Regions from separate parts of the Homo sapiens genome. Here region 1 is linked to region 2. Evidence: promoter capture Hi-C in human tissues and cell types (Jung and others, 2019). All regions are on one chromosome and are shown on one strand. Each heading gives the region's core, a stretch centred on a gene start or on the middle of the fragment in contact. The rest is flanking DNA. Distances are from core to core; before and after follow the strand shown.

What was found. Contacts are between HindIII fragments. The study calls those that stand out against the background at their distance.
Region 1: a contact is called between a fragment that was not itself captured here and the fragment with the promoter of LAMP5 in region 2, in 1 of the 25 tissues and cell types used here (dorsolateral prefrontal cortex).

The regions. Positions count from the first base shown.
Region 1 is chr20:7,580,234-7,585,506 of GRCh38, forward strand. No RefSeq gene overlaps it. Among named protein-coding and RNA genes, the nearest start is that of MIR8062, 210 kb to the left of the region's middle. RefSeq lists an enhancer at 4,849-5,143. The HindIII fragment of the contact is 4,418 bases long and covers 1,782-5,273 here.
Region 2 is chr20:9,511,572-9,516,588 of GRCh38, forward strand. LAMP5 (lysosomal associated membrane protein family member 5) reads left to right here and starts at 3,019. Exons shown (of 6, transcript NM_012261.4): 1 at 3,019-3,345; 2 at 3,882-4,054; 3 at 4,429-4,560; 4 at 4,685-4,790. The coding sequence starts at 3,282. LAMP5-AS1 (LAMP5 antisense RNA 1) reads right to left here and starts at 3,427. Exons shown (of 5, transcript NR_109957.1): 1 at 3,193-3,427. RefSeq lists an enhancer at 3,954-4,538. The HindIII fragment of the contact is 16,129 bases long and covers 1-5,017 here.

The DNA.
Region 1 (5,273 bases), core at 2,741-5,240, 1.9 Mb before region 2:
TAGCAATATCTCGGGCCATTCAGTAAATGTACCAGAATAAAACACCCAAATAAGGAATGTGTTGCTCCCACAATCCAAAGAAGCTCACTAGGCGTTATGCCTTTTTCTTTTTTTTTGTAATACGATCCTGATGCAACAATGTATCCTTCACCTTAAAAGGGATATCTTGAGATTCCACATATCACTGGACCCTTAGAAATTTCATTATGTTCAATCCTGAACTTCTGTGGGATTTATTTCCCACCCTCTGACATGCAAATATCTTACCAGTAAGCCTAGAATAGTTGCTACTTTTTGCTCACTAGGTCCAATCAGCATAATGTCATCAGTGTAATGGACCAGTGTGGTATCTTTTGGAAGGAGAAGGTGATCAAGATCCTTGCAAACTAAATTATAACCTAGGGCTAGAGAGTTAATATACACCTGAGATAGGACAGTGAAGGTGTATTTCTAGCCTTGACAGCTGACAGTAAACTGCCTCTGATAGTCCTTGTTGACAGAAATGGAGAAAAAGGAACTTGTAAGATCAATAGCTACATGTCAGGTACCAGGGGATGTATTATTTTATTCAAGTAATGAAACTACATTTGGTACAGCAGCTTCAATTGTAGTCATCATCTGGTCAAACATGAGAATGATAATTCATTATCATTCTCCCAGATCCATCTGTCTTCTGCACAGACAAGTCGAATGGAAAGGTGGTGGGAATAAACACCCCTGCATCTTTCTGATCTTGATGGTGGCACTAATCTCTACCATTCTTCCAGGCATGCAGTATTGCTATTGGTTTACTATTTTCCTAAGTAGAGGCCATCCTACTGCATTCCAATCAGACTTTCTCATCCTAATGGCCCTCATTCCATAGGTAATGGAACCAAAGTGGGGGTTAAGACAACTACTGAGTAGATCAACTGCAATAATGCATTCCATAACTGAGGAAATAATCACAGAATAGGTTCAGAGATGCACTGAGCTCACTGTGAAATAGATTTAAGCTAAAACTCCACTGATCATCTGATCCTCATAAGTCTGTACCTTGACTGATGAACCATAGTTAATTTTGAGATCTCTTGGGATTAGTGTTAGTTCAACCAGTATCTTGTAGTCATTGAAAGATCTGGTTATTTCCTTTTTCCCAGTATATAATTACTCTATTAAAGACCATAGGTTACTTTGAGGAGGGCTGGGAGAAAGAATAACAGTATAAATTTTGGCAGTGTACAGAGATCTTTCCATAAGTGGACCTAGATTCCTCTTTATTCAAAAGATTCTGGGTCTTTAAACTGGCTCAAGTCTGGAAATCGATCGAGGCGGGGGGCCATGTCTTTCTGTTTTCGTGATTCAGGTTAGACTTTTGGTAACTTAACCTAGAAATTTTCTGCTTATACAGATCAAATAAGAATTTAGTATGCTTTCTACTTATTTCACTTCAAGGACCATCCATGGTAAATTAGCCAACACCAGAGGTCTGCGCAAGTCAGACTATTCTGATTGCTGCTTCATCTCTGCTGTCCTTCACAGTAACTACTTCTACCTTGACTTGGGCCGCTGAGTGCCACCACTTGACCCCTGGCACCCCAGGATCCAATTACTCACATTGTATTTAGGTTTTCCAATTTACTGACAGCAGTTCCCATTGCAGAGTCTGGCCTATAGAGAAGAACAGTCACAGAGCACTTAAATCATGTTAGGTTTTCCATTACAAATTTATTTCTCACAGTATTGGTGAAAGGTATGTCTTCTGTATCCTCCCAGTGTGAGCGAGTTGGTTTTAAATGACAAACTCACTGCGACATTCTAATCTCCCTAGGCCTTTGAATCCCCTCCTCCACAGTAAACCCAGGCAGGTCTGACATTACTGTCAGCCGCCTGTTGTAGACCCACATCCATAAATTTTGTCTGATGCAACTTTGTTTCTTCTACTATTATCCCATACCTTTAGTATCTATTCCTACCCATGTTCCCCAGATTTCTTTCTACATATTTAGAAAACCAAGTGGATATTTTGAGTGTAGTATACCTCTTTGTGTGTAACACATTGTACCTGCCTTTAGAGACCTACCAGACCTTAAGTCTGGTATAGATACAGAAACAAAGACAGTGGGTTCTTTACCTTTTCTTTTTATATTAATTATTGTATTTTTTTTCCAAAATGCATTCTTAGGCTAAAAGTGTGGGTTCTTAGCAGGACAGCGAGGACTTACTTTTATGGCAACTTTTTCAGGGGATGTCATTGTTGTTTTCTCAGACAATCATAGTTAATCCCCTTAGATGAGAGTGCAGAAGCCACATTCCCAATGGGGAGGAAGAGGTCTCTTCCGCTGGCAAGAAAAATTTAGGGGCTCAATGTTCCCAATTTCATGAGGATCTTCCCACATAGCCCCATTTCAACTTTCCTTCCCTATCCATGTCATTCTTTCCCAATCAGTGCCCTCACTTCAACAGTGCACATCCTACAAATCTGGGTCTATTTGCACTGTAATTCAAGATGAAGGCCTGATTTTAGTTTTCAGCATCTCAACCCTACAGCTGTAGGAGACCAAGGTCTCCATTGGGGCAGATATAAAAGCTGTCAGATCATTTATGTAGCATTTAAGCTGGAAACTCAAATTCCTAAGCTAATTCTTTATTTTTCCCACTTTTTCCAGCAACATTATTAGGAGAATCATGTCAACCTACTATTCATTAGTTTGCCAAGAACGTTCAAAAGCATCATAGACACAATTCCCCAAGTCCTTGATCCTTATAAATGGTTGGTAAGGAGTAACCAATGGTGATATTTTGTTTATCCCTTTTGCCATTTCAGGGCCATGGACTATCTGTGTTCTCTTAACTCCTAGAAATAGTGTTATTAGTGCCTTTAAACCTAATCAGATAAGAGAGCCATTTCCAGGAATTCCAGAACCAATTCATAAAACTCATGCCTAAAATTCTGTTCCTGTAAAACCATTCTAGGTACCAAAATCTGGATGAGGCTTTTCCAGGGAAATAAAATAATAGGCAATTATGTACACACACAAACTCACACATACACATACATTAGATTTATATATATATATATATATATATCTTCATATATATATATTCCTAAATATATATATACATACATATTTAGGAATTGGCTCACATGATTGTGAAGCCTGAGAAGTCTCAAGAACTGCAGTCAGCAAGCTGTTGACCTGGGAAAGCCAATAGTATCATTTCAGCCCACATCCACAGACCTGAGAACCAGGAGAACCAATGGTGTCAGTTTCAGTCTCAATCTACAGGCTTCAAACCCAGGAGATCTGATGGTATAAGTTCCAGCTCAAAAGCCTGCAGGCTTGAAACCCAGGAGTAGTTGATGTTACAATTTGAGTCAGAAGACAGGAAAACAAACAAACAAACAACAACAACAAAACTATTGTCCCAGCTCAATCAGTCAGGCAAGAGGAATGCCTACTTATTTATGATCAGGTCAGATTTTTGCTCTATTCCAGCCTTCAGCTGTGTGGATACAGGCCATTTACATTAGGAGGCCAATCACATTACTCAGTCTACTGATTAAAATGTTAGTCTTATCCAAAAACACCTACAGAGACACACTGAGAAAAATGTTTGACCAAATATCTGGGCACACAATGGCCCAGTCAAGTTGACACACAAAATTAATTATCATGAATACTCACCTCAAGAGTTTACACAAATATTAAATGAGATAATAGATATAAGTACCTAGTTAAGCCCAAGTATATAGTATACTTTCAACAAATGTTGATCATTGTCAGAATTAGTTATTACTATTAAGTTCATGGTAGAAAATGTGTTAAGTATTGGTCCAAGAATAGCAAGGTTGAGAGTAGAACTGGGCCACTACTCTACCAGATTCTGGAAAACCAAGGCTAAGAATAATTTCTTTAAAGATTATGCTGATACTAGATTCTTCTTGGGAGTAAAAGGCTTACACTTATCATTGATCCCTGTGGAAATTTTACCTCCTAGTTTTGTGGGTTAAAGCCAAATCTTAAGTGCCTTACTACTTCTAAGCACAGGCACTTTAAGAGCGCAAAGAAGTATTGGAGAGAGGTATAGATTTAAGTGAAAGTTCATACCAAATTTTTAAACTTGAATCATATGATTTGATTTAGTCTCTTAATCTATAATAGTTAATGTAAGTTTCTTTTGCTTCTTCCTAGAAAGAATGACACTAAGGGTTTGATAGTAAAACATATATACTAATGGATAGATTTTCGAGCATGTCTGGTTTCACAGTGATAACACTGATTAGGACCATGCACACAGACATTCTTGATTACAGGTCTTACAGCCATCATGTTAAAGATTTGCCTCCAGCATTCACGCACACAGGCTGCTCTACATTGCCACAGCTTTGCATCCATGATTATTATTTTTCAATTTTAAATTATGCATTGAAGCCATATTTACAAGTGCACATATCATAAATGTACAGATTATTAAATTGTTACAAAGTGTGTAGTCTTATAAGCAAGAGCCAGATCAATAAATACAAGATTTTAATCATTAGTTTCCTGCTGCTGTAAGAATATAGACCCTTAACCCCTAGAATGAAAGCAAACTGCCATTCTATAATTAACAAAGTAGCATCTATGGTTAGAGTCAGGGTTCAACTCTCAGCTCCACCACTGGCTAATCCCTCTCTGCCTAACTTTTCTCATTTGTAAAATAAGCATAATAATATACCTATCTCATGGGTATATTAAATGAGTTAATACATGTGAAGAGCTCAGAAATGCCTGGCTCATAAGAAGCTCTCAATAAATGTAAGCCATATTTATTGCATAGTTCATTTCCCCTCATACTACTTGTTACCAGATGGTGCCTGAAATGACATGAAGTGCTTGCTGAATGAATAGGAAGGAAAAATAAGAGTCCTTTACCTAACAGAATATAAAGTTTCAATGAAATTACACCATGCAGAGAAAGCAATTTGTCCTGTTTACATGGAAGACAAACAAGGAACTGGACTTTGGCTTTGAGCTGTGTGAATGGGAGATGGCATTGCTTCCGTGACCCACATTCACATTCAATAACAAGACCAGAGAGAAACAGCTTTTAGGAGCCCAACAGGAATAGTCACCTAAGAGTTGCTATTTGACTAAACAGCTACTCCATTCTTTTCTTCTACACAGCCGTTCCTTGCACCTTTCAACTGTGTGGCAATATGACTCTCCTGAGATTGAGAAACAGTGTGTCAGGTTCCATTCATCCTTAACATAACAGAGGAGTGGTAGCTACAGTATACCAGAAAGGGA
Region 2 (5,017 bases), core at 1,769-4,268:
CCACCCTACATCAGTTTGTCAACTTCTTTCAAGACTCACCTTCTCCAAGAGACCTTTTTTCATCAATTTCAACCACTCTCCCACCTGGGATGCCTGTCTTACTTTTTTTTCCCCCTGAACATTTATGCAGACACTGTGCTAGGCTAACTGGAATCTTTATGTAAATTCTTCTCATCCAAATTGAAAGTTCTATGCAAGGGCCTCTTCTTGCCCTTTTATAAAACAGCAACCACTCAATGGCATGAGATTCATAAAGGCTAATTCAGTAAGTATCCATATGAATTGAAAAACAGCCTTTGAAGGACCTAGAAGATCTAGAGGAGATCCCAAATCCAGTGTGTTTAGGTCACACTGCACCCTAACAGTTTCTACTGACCACCAGCAGCAATAATAAAAATTGACACAGTTACCACCCACACAGGTGTACATATTTATGTCAATTTCTCCTACCATCTTTTAGACTTGAGAAATGAAAAGTAGAGCAAATTCTGGGGAACATTGTTAATATATTAAAATGCAATTTAATGGCAAATTTTGCTCCTTGATCACTTCTTTGCTTATTTTAGAGAACCAAAGAGTTTTTTTCCAGAATGATTAGAAAGATATTTAATTAATGTAGGTGAAAGTTGTAGGTATAATGACCTAACTCCTATTGCAATGTATCACAGTGGATAAGATGATAAATTAATGGGCATTTGTTAGCCATGTTTAAGATTAAATATTAAAAAAGTCATTAAACTGATTGTGCTTTGAAAATAATCCCCCCAGAAAAAAAGAGTTAAAATTGCTTTCTTTCTTCTTTCAACCCATTTGAGTACTCTAGGGTACACTCTCCAGTGTCAACAAAGAGATCATTTATATCAGGTATAATTTTCAAAGGAACAACCATCTCATTTGTAAATCAACTACTACATTTTAAGATCAATGACCAATGCTACTACTCACCTAATCTTTTATTATTAAGGCAGATAATCATGAATTAATTCAGTTGATCTTTTAACAACTTATATAGTGAAGATATCTGCAATAACATACTGCAAGAGAAATTGTCAAAATCTTTTATAGGTGTCTCTCCTACTTGTGTAATGATAAATATCTTTTGGTTTTCAAAGCATCAAGCATACTGGAAGTAGTAAGTATTCGGTTAATGTTTATGGATCTATTTGTACTTTGTTTATTTATACTCATTGGCCCATTTGGTTTAACTAGCCATCCCCTGAGTTATTTTCCCAATTTTTCAGATGAGAACAAATAAAATCTTCAGAAGGTCACAAAAATAATAAGTAGTGAATCCTGGACTGAAATCTACTCATTTCTGTCCTCATAAAATACTGGAGAGAGAGAGAGAGAGAGAGAATAAATACTTTATTACATGTCTCATTGTTTTCCAGTTTTACAGTACTACAGGAAAATAAGTGTTTAATAATAATTGCTAACATGAAAAAATGTAACACATACAAATGTTATCTCTTCCACTTTCAACTGATGAGAACTGACGTTTTATCAATCTTCTGTATAAAATCATTTCTGTTAAGTTCTGTAAAATTTGCATCAATTCTTCTATATATAATCATCTTTGTAAAGTTCTTGAGAAATGTTTGGATGAAATACTGAACTACAAACATAAAAGTCAAGATGTCAAAATATAATGTCAATTTTAATATTACTTTATACTTTGAATTGCTAGTGATCTAATGATTGATATAGGAATATGTTTGAAAGCCAAAAACATTATATAGATACTTTGTGGCAGATATGTCAGAATGTGATTATACTTAAAACAGCATTCTATAAATTTGAAGAATGTGAATTAATGATAGAGATTTCAGATTTCAGATTATTATTTGATATTGAATATAGATTTTTATGGAAGTCAAAATATGGAGTAAAAATATTATATAAGGAGAAATGAAGATAATCTCACAGAGTTAAAGCATGTGATTTTTGTATTTTAATTCTAACTGACCATGTGACATTTGGGAAGGTCATTTAATTTATTTGAGCCTCAGTTTTGGGGTATGTAAAACCACAGTAACTCATATCTTTCCTTGCCTACCCTCTAAGATTGGGGAGAATCAAATTAGATAATGCAGGTGAAATACTTTGCAATTTTCCCTTTAATATGACATTGTTTTATAACATTATATTACTGATGCAACATTTATTTGCATTATGAAATATCTTCTAAGGAATAAAATATTTGGACATCACTACAATTGATGAGGACTGCATGTGTATTTTTGAAAGCTGTATTCTGATTTACAGAGCAAAAATAAAAAATAAGCAAGCTACCAAATATGTAAATACAGGAATTAGCCCAGTAGTATTTGTTCTTCTGTTCCACTACAGGCTTTAGAGTAATATCAGTGTGTGTTTTTCTTACATAACTATGTGACATTACTTAGGGCATAATTCTAAAATTTCTGTCCTAGGAGACACTAGATAACTCTCAAAAACTTCTGATTTGCTTGCATCCCTTTTTGGCAGAGTGGTCACAGTATAATGCGGGAGGGTAGGTGACCCCAGAGTTCAGAGTCCTCATGCACCCGGGAGCAAAATTCACAGGAAAATAAGCCCACATGGAGCTACTGCATTGTCTGATGGCCTCGTTCGAGGAGGCGTCAATTTAACTTTAAACCCATGAGCTCATTGAGAGCAGGGGAGAGAAGGGGATGTCTCCAAATTCAGGAAACTGTTGCCATAGCATTTTCCCTTCTCTATTCCTGCATAGCCCTCCTCCCCCGAATCAGCAACAATTTTTGCTCCACCGTTTTCTTTCGGGAACCAGATGCGTTTTCAGAAGACAGTACTCCAGTGATAAGGTATCTACACCACTTAATAACTGTACCTGGTAAGGAGATTTAATAAGGCTGAGGGTGGTATTAAGTTTCTCAGAACAGACTCATCTTTGCGGATGCAGTTGCAGAACAGGAAACAGACCCAGGGAGAAGTTTAGTCCCCCCAGATCTCATTGGCCCTCCGCACAAGCCAAGCCACAGCCACTCCTGCCACACAATCGGATTGCTTTCAGCACTCGCAGCCGTGGACCGCCGTGCGGTCCTTTCCTCCGCAGTGAGCCGATTTGCTCTGCCAGCAGCTGTCGGTGCCGCGCTCGACACCGAGTCCTAGCTAGGCGCTCACAGAATACGCGCTCCCTCCCTCCCCCTTCTCTGTCCCCCGCCTCTCGCTCACCCCGGCCCACTCCAGCGGCGACTTTGAGGGATTCCCTCTCTGGCGGCCTCTGCAGCAGCACAGCCGGCCTCATTCGGGGCACTGCGAGTATGGATCTCCAAGGAAGAGGGGTCCCCAGCATCGACAGACTTCGAGTTCTCCTGATGTTGTTCCGTGAGTAGCGATTTGGCGACTGGGAGAGAGGACGGGCACTCTTTGCAGAGAACAGAGCCGGCAAAGTAAAGTCAATTAGCTTGAGATAAAAAATATGGCCCTTAATGTTTTGCGGTGTTTTTTCTTTTTTTCTTTTAGGGGAGGAGGGAGGGCCTTCCTCGCCGGTGGCAGGGAATTCCCCTGAGAGCCATACACCTCTGTGGCATATTCCAGACAGAGCCTAGACAGGCCAGCTTCGTGAGGTCAGAGCATTGGCAAGAAATATTTACTTTAAAATCCCAAGATGTAGAAAACAGCCAGCTATATTACAAACAAAGTCAGGATTTTTAATTTTTTTAACTGTATTTTCATTATAAATTAACAGCGAAGGAATGAGGCTTGTTAGACCCGGGTTAGAGAAACGGCTCGTAGAGCGCACAGCTGCTGGCAGAGAACTTTGTCACTCCAAAGCCTGCAGAGCACTGTCTCCCCACCCTAGCGCCCGAGACGCGTGGGCTGAGCCCTGAACTGATGGAATTGTTTTGTTTGTTCCGCAGATACAATGGCTCAAATCATGGCAGAACAAGAAGTGGAAAATCTCTCAGGCCTTTCCACTAACCCTGAAAAAGATATATTTGTGGTGCGGGAAAATGGGACGACGTGTCTCATGGCAGAGTTTGCAGCCAAATTTATTGTACCTTATGATGTGTGGGCCAGCAACTACGTAGATGTAAGGAATCTTTCCCCCCCCTCAGCTTGCTCCTAGGGCTCCAGGGCGAAGGGCACCCTTCCTCAAGGCTCTTCGAAGACCTGGGTTGCCCGCCTTCTTTCCCACACCCCGGCAGGCTGCTCCCGAATGCTGCATGGGGATTCCAGCTTGTAATGCCTTCTGTTCCCCTGCCTGCTTTGAAAGTAAACCCCCTTCTCTCCGCTTCCCTATCGGGGCTGCACGTAGAGCATCTAACCGCATGTTCCCGGAACCTGGGATGCGCGCGCGCAAAGGAGCGCCCAAGCGTGCAACCCAGAGTTTGGACGCGCCGCCCTTTACAGCCCCCGCCCCGGGGCCGGGCGAGCTGAGGGGGCGCGGGGCGTCTGTGTTCCCAGCTGATCACAGAACAGGCCGATATCGCATTGACCCGGGGAGCTGAGGTGAAGGGCCGCTGTGGCCACAGCCAGTCGGAGCTGCAAGTGTTCTGGGTGGATCGCGCATATGCACTCAAAATGCTCTTTGTAAAGGTAACTCCGAGCCCAGCGGGCAGAGGGGCCGCAGGCTCCGCGTGGGTGTGGGAAGTGGCGGCCCCTAGGTTTAAGAACCCAGACGCTGCGGGGACGATTGAAGCGCACCTCCCCGGCTCAACAGGAAAGCCACAACATGTCCAAGGGACCTGAGGCGACTTGGAGGCTGAGCAAAGTGCAGTTTGTCTACGACTCCTCGGAGAAAACCCACTTCAAAGACGCAGTCAGTGGTGAGTGGAGGCTGGCATGGCTGGGGAGGGAGCCTGGGAACTCGCAGAACAGGCTTGGAGAGAGAATTCCTCAAGGTTTTGGAAACCGTCCCACGCTTTGAGGTCCCAGGCCAAGTCTTCCCTCGGCTTGCTCTTTAGGGCGGAAGAGGCGGGAGCGCCCATGAGTCTTCTGGGTCTCAGGCCTTGTAGATCCGCCAGGAACCGCAGGCGTGGGGACCCAAACGTCA